Regions from separate parts of the Homo sapiens genome. Here region 1 is linked to region 2. The links are contacts of gene promoters, found by promoter capture Hi-C in human tissues and cell types (Jung and others, 2019). All regions are on one chromosome and are shown on one strand. Each heading gives the region's core, a stretch centred on a gene start or on the middle of the fragment in contact. The rest is flanking DNA. Distances are from core to core; before and after follow the strand shown. Region 1 has its middle 500 kb from the start of ERCC4. Region 2 holds the start of CPPED1 (calcineurin like phosphoesterase domain containing 1).

Region 1 (5,444 bases), core at 2,288-4,787, 620 kb after region 2:
GTTAGCTATTGAGTTTTCATTACAGTGTACTCACTTCTTTCTTCAAGTCTTCACTGTCAGTGTCTTGCAAACTGCTGAACACCACTGGATCCCTCATTCCTAAAGCAGAAGTGGCTTGACTGAATGTCATCGTAGTGGGAATCACACACATTGGGCAGACCCCACCATTGGAGGCTACCTCAGCAGATATCGTCTGCAAAGACAGCCTGTGCCTGGATGATGAGATCTATCCCTGCTCAAGGAACAGCTCACTGTAGCTTCCCTAAGTGGAGACAATGGGCAGGTTAATGCCAACGGGCAGAGAAGAAGGGCATGGTGGTGACCCTATCAACATGCTCGAATGCTGGCATCAAACAGAGGATGCTTGAAGCTTTGGTGTGGTGAAGCTGGTGGAACTTTTTGAAATCTCTTGGGAAGGTTTATGCCAATGATACCCTACCTAAACCCCATCTCACATTTTCTTGGTTGAAACCATGAGCCTATTTTCTTCTTCCCTCCTTTTCTTCTTTAAATCCTTCCTTTATTACTTCCTTTGCTCCTTCATTCAACAGACACCTGTCATGTTTTGGAGGGGAGGCCTAGCCTGAAAGAAGCTAGATTATGTTTATCTCTGAGAATATGACTTGTGTAGGCATCTCAGGTTTGTCAGTACAGTGGTTGACCTACATGTATTTATTAGCAGGATCTTTGAAGAAAAAAAAAAAGAGGTGCTCCAATTGTTTATTGCTAAGTATCAAAACAGCCCCAAACTTAGTGGCATGAAAGAATGGCATTTTAATATGCCTATGATTCTATGGATCAGGAATTTGAAAGCCCATGTCCATGTTCCACAATGTCTAGGGTAATGAAGGCTGGAGATGGTTGGAATGGCTCACCTGGGGCTGTATATCTGGCGCCTCCATTCTTCACCATGTGGCATCTGCTGAAACCGCATATGCAAGAGAACTACTTCACTCATATGCATGGTGTGTGGGCTGAAGTGGCTGGAACACTTGGGGTCTGACTGGCACTGCTTCTCCTCCGTATGACCACATGGACTTCCCCCCAGTATGGCGGTCTTATGTTACTCAACCCAGAGACTCCTGCCCAGGCCCATGGAGAGAGCAGAAGCTGCTGGAGCTCTGATGATGTGGGGCAAACTGGGATGTTCTGTGGCCCAGATGGCAAAGCAGCAAAGAGATGGCATGATTTTATTCACCTCCTGCATGAATTCACAGTTACACAATGTGGCTCTAGCACCATAAGGACTATAAGTAATAATCTAACCTTGAGAACACAGAAGATAGCATGCTGGTGTGATTGCACTGATACCCTCAGCCAGCTCAGGCAGAATAAACAACACGGGCTAGCAGTGCAGGACAAGAACAGCACATTGCACCTTCCTTAGTGACCACAGCTAATAGCCTGATTAATGAGGCACAGGTGAAACAACCTTGGGGCATTCCCAGAAATAAAGTGGGGACATCCTAAAGGGGCTGGAGGTTCTATGTAAGTAGTTGAAGAAAACTTTAGTAAAATGTGGATATTTAATCTTATATAAACCCACGTGTATGAACTGGTTTGTGAAGATGCAAATTACACTTTACAAAACTTTTAGTTCAAGCTTTGTATTTAATGACCTCACCCTCCAGGGTTTAGTATCTAATTGGAAAAATAAAATTAATATACATTAAATAATGGCGTAAGACAATGTAACAGCTGTCACCAGGGAGCCCTGAATAAATGACTCAAACATTAAGTTTTATAGGGATAAGCTCCAAGAAAGAAGACATTCTGAGAGATGGAAAGAACAGCGGGCCTCCTGGAAGCTGGAAATTTGATCTGTGCTTTGGAAGGTGGTGCAATTAAGTTAGGCAGACAATGAAATCTCAAAACTAGAAATATTTTTGAAAGACTTTTGGCTTTGTGGGACTAATCTTTCCTTTAATATCTAAATAAAACAACTCATAAGAACAACTATTTTTTCCTAAGCATTTTTAGTTTTTAAACCTTAGCCTTTGTTAGCGTGTGATGTCTAGAACTCTGGAGTTTGAAGACATGTGGGAAGTCTAGATGTGGTTATAAGAGAGGATTAAAAAATCAAAAGTAGAGGAGGTAATTTAGAGTGGCTGTTTACTTACGTCTCTTCCTGAACTTGAAGACCAGGGTTGGCCAGATAGTAAGTACTTTTTGACATTGTGGGTCACACAATTTTTATAGCAACTACTCAACTCTGTTGTTGTAGCCAGGAGCAATCATAAACAAGGCATAAACAAATAAGCATGGCTATAACTGTGTTCCAATAAAACTTTATTTACAAAGCCAGGTGGCAGGCTGGATTTGGCCCATGAACCATATAGCTTGCTGACCTCCACTCTAGATGTTCAATTTATTCCATCAATGTTTAGTGAAATCTACACTGCGTTAATCACTGTGAATAAGAACATGGGATAAAAGTTGTTTGCTCAAGCTGGGCACAGTGGCTCATGGCTATAATCCCAGCACTTTGGGAGGCCAAGGCAGGCAGATCACCTGAAGTCAGTAGTTCAAGACCAGGCTGGCCAACATGGCGAAACCCCGTCTCTACTAAAAATACAGAAATTAGCCAGGTGTGGTGGTGGGCACCTGTAATCCCAGCTACTCTGGATGCTGAGGCAGAAGAATTGCTTGAATCTGGAGCGGGGAGGTTGCCCTGAGCGGAGATCGCACCACTGCACTCCAGCCTGGGCAACAGAGTGAGAATCTGTTTCAAAAAAAAAAAAAAAAAAAAAAAAAAAAGGTTTTTTGCTCAGCAGGCGTTTACTGTAGGCTGATTGTGTGCTTGGTGCTGTGCCAGTCAAGTGAAATCTAATATTGAACAGATAAATATGATCCTCCCCTCACAGAAAGCTTCCAGCCTAGGAGTAAAAAGCCTGGAGATGGGGATGGAAGCTATCACAGGATCTAACCCAGTCTTGGGAGATGAAGAAACCAGAAATGTCTTTCCTGAGGAAGGGATGTTCAGTCTGAGATTGGAAGAAGCTTGTTCTTAGCACAGACAGGTTATAAAAGTGGGGGATGGGGGGTAAGGAAAGGCAAGAGTAATGTTCCATATAGAAGAAACACCCATTTCAAAGCACAGAAGGGAGGGTGTCTTTCTTTAAAGAAACAGAAAAATTCATTATGGCTGAGGCAGCCTGATTAATGAAGCCAGAATGAGACAACCCTTCAACCCAAGATGGAATTGGAGGGCTGACTGGGAGCCCACCAACATCCCCAGAAACGCACAAATGCCCCTGACCCTCAGCATGTGCACATTTCTTCTGCAGTGTCAGGGCATTTAATAATCAGCCTTGTTTAGGAACAGCTGAGATTCTGCAGATGACAAACACTATGAAATCCTCTCACGTAGACATTGATTCCACTCAAGAGATGATGGTATTACAGCTGCTCCCAGCGAAACAGCTAGATTTTGCTTCAGGGGAAAGCAGTGATCCAACTTGGACTCTTCACACATACCATGCAAGGAAAAAGTCCATTTCCACATCATTTTCAATACTAATTAAACTGGCACCAATTAATGCAAACCCAGGGAGCATTTGAAGTGATCCTTGGCCCTTTCCCTTCAATAAAAATATGCAGTTGGCTGAAAATCTTCATCCCTCAGGCCAGGTAAGAGAGGATCTGCTGCATTCAGATGTCCTAGAGACAGTGCCATTTCTTCTCTGTGTTATTACTGACAAGTACTTTCTGCATTCCATATAATTCCAATATACCATCCTTGGGCTCTGTATTAATCCGTTTTCATACTGCTGATAAAGACATACCCAAGACTAGGAAGAAAAAGAGGTGTAATTGGACTTACATTTCCACATGGCTGAGGAGTCCTCAGAATCATGGCAGGAGGTGAAAGGCACTTCTTACATGGCTGTGGCAAGAGAAAATGAGGAAAATGCAAAAGCGGAAACCCCTGATAAAACCATCAGATCTCGTGAGACTTATTCACTACCACGAGAACAGTATGGGGGAAACCACCCCCATGATTCAAATTATGTCCCACTGGATCCTTCCCACAACATGTGGGAATTACGGGAGCTACAATTCAAAATGATATTTACGTAGAGACACAGAGCCAAACCATATCAGTCTCTAATTAACTAAGATGCAAACTTCATCCAATAGAACAAAGTAAACACTCAGTAAATTTTAATTTATGTCATTTTGTTGTACATAAAAGAACCCAATACAATATTTGACACACAGTAAGTATCAACAAATATTAGTCCTCTTCCCCTTCTTCCAGGCCATTCTAGTCTTCAACTCTCACATGAAATCTCATAAAACCTCTTATGTGCCGTATTTTCCCAAACGAATCCCAGGTTGGGGTAAATGCTTCCAGCCACACTAAAAGAAATGTCTGATCAGCAGGATGTGGAGGAGATGCTAACTCCCTGGTGACGAGCACAGGAAATGCCCATGTGGTGATCTAAGCCCTTTGTGGGGCTCTTTTCTGCCTGCATCCTCTAATATAAATGGTTGGTTTTGCAGAACCAGCTTTGAATGCATATACCCAATCACTACACAAGTGGAGCTGGTCAGCTTTTCTTGCCTCTGTGGCCACAGGAGAGAGCACTCTCAAAAACACAGGTCACCTCCAAGGACCAACCCACTCGTAAAATACGGGCTGATGTCTGATGGCAAATGCTCCCCATGGAGCCAGCACAGAGGTTCAGTGAGGCTCCAAGGATGTAACAGGCTTCCAGGCTAAAGCACAAAGTAGCAAATATGTTCCTGTCCTTGCTACAAGTGTCAGGATTTTTTTTTAAAAAGTTATTTTTGAATACCTTCAACATTCAAAAGCTATTTATTAATGCCATCAACATTCACATAGCCTGGAGAAAACTACATTGGCACTGACTGATATAAGACAATTGGGTTAGGCTGGGCGTGGTGGCTCATGCCTGCAATCCCAGTGCTTTCAGAGGGTGAGGCAGGTGGATCACTTGAGGTCAGGTGTTCAAGACCAGCCCGGCCAACATGGCGAAACCCCATCTCTACCAAAAATACAAAAATTAGCTGGGCATGGTGGTGCATGCCTATAGTCCTAGCTACTTGGGAGGCTGAGGCAGGAGCATTGCTTGAACCTGAGAGGCGGAGGTTGCAGTGAGCTGAGATCACTCCACTGCATTCCAGCCTGGGTGAAAGAGTGAGACTCTGTCTCAAAACAAACAAACAAAAACAAAGAAACAAACAAACAAAAACCACCACCACCAACAACAACAAACAATTGGGTTAAAAAGTTACATCTGAATGTTGATCCTGTAATTTTCATGACCTTGTGAGTGATCTTAGTGAGATTCAGTCCCCAACTTTGTGTCTCCATTTCTTCATCTTTCTGATGACAGTCTTATTGCACGTGAGAGCTAAGATTCCTCCTAACTCTAAAATGAAAGGTTCCTGTTGTATCTTTGGAGAAAGGAGGAAAG
Region 2 (5,097 bases), core at 713-3,212:
AAAAGCTGTCCTGAGAAAAGGAGCGACCTTGACCTTCAGGGGTGGGGAGGAAGACAGCCAGGCGAGGCAACCCCACAGAGTAAACTGCAAGAATAAATACAGCTGCCTTTTGCTTCTCTCCCTGCTCTGATTTCTTCTCAGGGCTCCCCACTGGCTGAGCCCAAAGGAAAACCAAAAGGCAAGGAGCCCACCGATGTAGCTCACGGAGGGCAAACCCCTGGGGCATGGTGGGGAAGGGAGAAAGGTTTGGAGAGGCAAAGGGAAGATATTCAGCATATACATCAACAGAATGTATAAGGTATATAATCATCCAATGGAATGTTGCCCAGCAAGAAAAGAGCAAAATCTTCATGTTGGACAAAAAAGACAAGGTCCATTAAAATACAGTCGTCCCAGGCCGGGCGCGGTGGCTCAGGTCTGTAATCCCAGCACTTTAGGAGGCTGAGGACGGCGGATCACCTGATGTTGTGAGTTCGAGACCAGCCTGGCCAACATGGAGAAACCCCATCTCTACTAAAAATACAAAATTAGCCGGGCGTGGTGGTGCGTGCCTATAGTTCCAGCTACTCCAGAGGCTGAGGCAGGAGAATCGCTTGAACCCGGGAGGCGGAGGTTACAGTGAGCCAAGATCGTGCCACTGCACTCCAGCCTGGGCAATAAAGCAAGACTCCGCCTTAAATGAATAAATAAGGTTTTACCATAGAATTACCGGAGAAACCTACTTTAGATAAGGTAGCAGGTAAAGTCTCTGAGGAAGTGAATGAACTTTAAAATGAGGTGTGACGGTTGAGAGAGCCAGGCTCACCAACCCTGCTAAAGAAGCAGAAAACAGCAAGCGCCAAGACCCTCAGGGAAAGAACGGCCTTGGCCCTTTTAAATGCAGTTCAAACAAGGGCAACAACAAAACCTGTTGCAGAACTGGGCAAGAGAGAGAATGACAACCCTGAAGGAAGTGGACACAAGCCTGATCATATAGGGCATTTAGGGTGACTTCCCTGGGGGTATAAAGCTGGTGAGAGCCTGGGAGGCGATCTGGCTGCAGGCAGCAAAAAGCCACAGAGGGGAATCAACAAACCAGAAACAAACCTCCCTCTTTACTTAGCACCTAGCATGCGTCCAACACCGGGTTACAAAAATACTTTTGATCTGTTTACGCTTCCAACAACCCTATGAGGCAGGTATTATCAAACCCATTTTTAAGGCAAAGCAGATAATCTAAATCCAAAATCCAAGCACTTCACTACGACTCTCGAATGCCCTCCCTCTCTACTGCTCTGATGGGGCAGTGTTACCATTTCGGTGAATGACTTAAATAAACGTCATTATGGAGTACAGAATACATAACGGTGAACAACCTTAATAAAACCGACACCCTCTAACATGCACCGAACGCTTATCCAGTAACACCCACAAGTATTCCCGTTTCACAGATGTGGAAGCTGAGGCCAAGATGCTAATGCACAGCTTGGAAACCAGGTCTCGCTGCAGAGTCCAAGCTGTCATTAACTATGCTTTGCTACCCTCCTCTTACTTCCCTTCTCTGGGGGAAGTTAGGTCAAGGCCAAGGAGGCTCCTAGACCAGATCGCTCTCTCGGCCTCGCCTCTCAACTGCGCCCCTGGAATCCCTAAGAGCAGGCTTTGATGCAGCTATGGCGGCTCCCAGGCCCCGGTGCAGCCCCGGATGGTGTCCGACTGGCGGAGCGCACACCTGAACAAAAGGTTCCCCCGGCGGAAGGTTCCGCAGCCCCAGAGTCCCCTCCCCGGGTGAGGGGCGGGCAGTACCTGCGGGAAACGCGGCCAGGGTCCTGCCCCTGGCTCTGTGGAAAACACCCCCCGCCTCTGCAGCCGACATGGCGAGCGAGTTTCTGGCCTTCACTTAGAACACTGCGTGGGTGGAAGCCGCGCGACTTCACACAGAACAACCGCTGGACCTGTCCCGCTTTGGGCGACGCCCTTTGATCTCGGGGCGGGACTGGGGCGGGACGGGGAGGGGCCCGGTGGCTCGGGGCGCCACTAGTGCTGCCTGGGCGGAGCGGAGGCGCCAGCGGCCCCTCTGGGATCGACCTGCGCGCCTGGCGAGTGGAGACTGTCTAGGGCACGCGTGGGCGGGGATAAGGCTTTGGGGTCAGTCCTTCCCTAAAGGCAGAGTTACTAGATTTAACAAGTAAAAATGCAGGACTCCCGGTTAAATTGGAATTTCAGATTTTTTTTTTTAAAGAATGACTGACTTGGTATAAATATGTCCTATGCAGTATTTGGGAGCTACTTACGTTAAATTTTTTTTTCATTATCTGAAATTCCAATTGAACTGGGCGTCCTAATTTTTTTAAATTTTTCTCTTTTTGCAGGTTTGAATGGAAGCGTCCTGATTTTTTTTTATCTGACAACTCTATCATAAAGTCAGAAGGAGCCACTGGGGTGGCTTACGCCTGTAACCCCAGCTCTTTGGGAGGCCAAGGAGGGAGGATCGCTTGAGTCCAGGTGTTGGAGACCAGCCTGGGCAACACGGCGAGAGACCTTGCCAATACAAAAAAAAAAAAAAAAAAGATGAAAAGGTGGACGTCTTGGAAGACTGTCTCAGCCTGAACTTCCCAGTGGCTGCCACCATCTTTCTGTTATTATCTTTGCTTGCTATGCACCAGGCAGGGCGCTAAGCACTTTGCACGCTGCTCACTTAATCCCCACTACAGCCCTAGGAGGTGGTGCTGTTATTAGCTGCATCCGTCATTTGGGGAAACTGACGCTCAGAGAGATGAACGAACTTGCACAAGGTGACACACATCTAGAGAGGTAGTAAAGCTGCGAGTAACCAAATTAGTGTCTCTTCAACTCAAGAGCCATTGTAGTGAACTACTTAGCCAGCATTTGTCAAACGTGTTGAAAATACAAATTCCAGAATGGACCTATTGAATCCAAATCTCTATGAAAATGATCTGTGTTTTGTTGTTGTTGTTGTTGTTTTGAGACAGGGTCTCACTCTGGTTGCCTAGGCTGGAGTGCAGTGGCACAATCTCTGCAGTCTCGATCTCCTGGGCTCAGGTGATTCTCCCACCTCAGCCTCCTAAGTGGCTGGCACTATTGGCGTGCGCCACCATGCCTGGCTAATACTTTGTATTTTTAGTAGAGACGAGTTTGACTATGTTGCCCAGGCTGATCTGGAACTCCTGAGCTCAAGCAATCCACCCACCCGGGCCTCCTAGAGTGCTAGGATTACAGGCATGAGCCACAGTGCCTGGCCTGAAAATGATCTGTTTTTAACAAGCACTGCAGGGGAGCTCTTATGATCTTACAAATTTGGGAAATTCTTTTCTAAACTAGCTGCCTACATCCAAAGCACTGTTTGAGTAGCTAATATGGCCATAACTACTGTTCTCTAATCCTTGACAAGAGTCACCCATGAATCATAGTGGTTAAGAGTATAAATGCCTATGAGTCCTGGAGTCAGTGGGCTTGGATTAATCCCGGTTCTACCCACTTACTGGTTGTATGCTCTTGAAAATTGCATAGTTTCTCTATGCCTCAGTTTCCCTATCTGTGAAATGGAAACAATAGTAGCATCTAGGTCATAGGGTTGCAGAAAGGCTTAAATGAGTTCATGTATCAAAGTGCTTAGAATAATAGTTCTAATAACAAATGGTAGGTACTCAATGAATATTAGCCATTGTTATTATTAATCAATCACTATAACCCTATTCCCTGAACATGGCCTGGCCCAGAGGAGGAGTCCCAAGAAATGTGAAGGAGGCCGGGCGCAATGGTTCAGGCCTGTAATGCCAGCACTTTGGGAGGTGGAGGTGGCGGATCATGAGGTCTACAGATCGGGACCACCCTCGCCAACATGGTGAAACCTCATCTCAACTAAAAATACAAAAATTAGCTGGGTGTGGTGGTGCACGCCTGTAGTCCCAGCTACTCGGGATGCTAAGGCAGGAGAATCACTTGAACCCGAGAGGCAGAGGTTGCAGTGAGCCGAGATCCCGCCGCTGCACTCCAGCCTGAGCGACAGAGTGAGACTGTGTCTTTAAAAAAAAAAAATGTGAAGGGGAAGCTGAGCACAATGGCTCATGCTTGTAATCCCAGCATTTTGGGAGGTTTAGGCAGGAGGATTACTTGAGCCCAGGAGTTCAAGACCAGCCTGAGCAACATAGTGAGAACTCATCTCTATTAAAAAATTTTTTTTAATTAAAAGAAATGTGAAGGAGAGAATGAATTATAGAAACAGACCCTGCCTCTTATTCACTAGCTTTGCAGTCATACTGGCCATTCAGTTCATTAAACATGCAAATTAATTTCCCTCTCTGCATATGCAGTTCTTTCTGCTTAAAATGCCTCTTCCCAGCTGGGCACCGTGGCTCATGCCTATAATCCCAGCATTTTGGGAGGCCAAGGCAGGTGGATCACGAGGTCAAGAGATCAAGACCATCCTGGCCAACATGGTAAAACCCTGTCTCTACTAAAAATACAAAAATTAGCCAGATGTGGTGGCGCGTGCCTTTAATCCCAGCTACTCGGGAGGCTGAGGCAGGAGAATTGCTTGAACCCGGGAGGCGGAGGTTGCAGTGAGCTGAGATCGCGCCACTGCACTCCAGCCTGGTGAAAGAGCAAGACTCTGTCTGAAAAACGAACAAACAAACAAAAAAGTATCTTCCCCTGCTGAGCTAAAGCCCATTTGAACATGAAGGCCTGCAGTTAAATAACACTTCTGTGGAGAGGCCATGCCCTACCCATTTGCACACTTTGCTGATCTAAACTAGGCCTCCCTCATTCTTTGTTAGAGCACTATGTTCTTGTCCCTTGTTGCACTTTGCACAGTTGATAATTATATGTTTTCAGGTGTAATTATTTATTTAATGTTGACTTTCCCGACTCAACTATAAGGTCTATTAAGTTGGTTACCTTTTTAAAAAATTTACTGTTTTGGCCGGGCACAGTGTCTCACGCCTGTAATCCCAGCACTTTGGGAGGCCAAGGCAGGCAGATCATTTGAGGTCAGGAGATCGAGACCAGTCTGGCCAACATGGTGAAACCCCATCTGTACTGAAAATATAAAAATTAGGTAGGCATGGGAGCACGCCTGTAATCCCAGCTACTTGGGAG

The links. Contacts are between HindIII fragments. The study calls those that stand out against the background at their distance.
Region 1: a contact is called between a fragment that was not itself captured here and the fragment with the promoter of CPPED1 in region 2, in 2 of the 25 tissues and cell types used here (hippocampus and thymus).

Annotation. Positions count from the first base shown.
Region 1 is chr16:13,417,517-13,422,960 of GRCh38, forward strand. It overlaps a transcript of SHISA9 not described here. Among named protein-coding and RNA genes, the nearest start is that of ERCC4, 500 kb to the right of the region's middle. The HindIII fragment of the contact is 5,103 bases long and covers 987-5,444 here.
Region 2 is chr16:12,801,925-12,807,021 of GRCh38, forward strand. It overlaps CPPED1 (calcineurin like phosphoesterase domain containing 1), which reads right to left and starts at 1,963. Exons shown (of 4, transcript NM_018340.3): 1 at 1,783-1,963. The coding sequence starts at 1,852. RefSeq lists enhancers at 143-222, 1,545-1,914 and a silencer at 1,995-2,044. The HindIII fragment of the contact is 16,943 bases long and covers 1-5,097 here.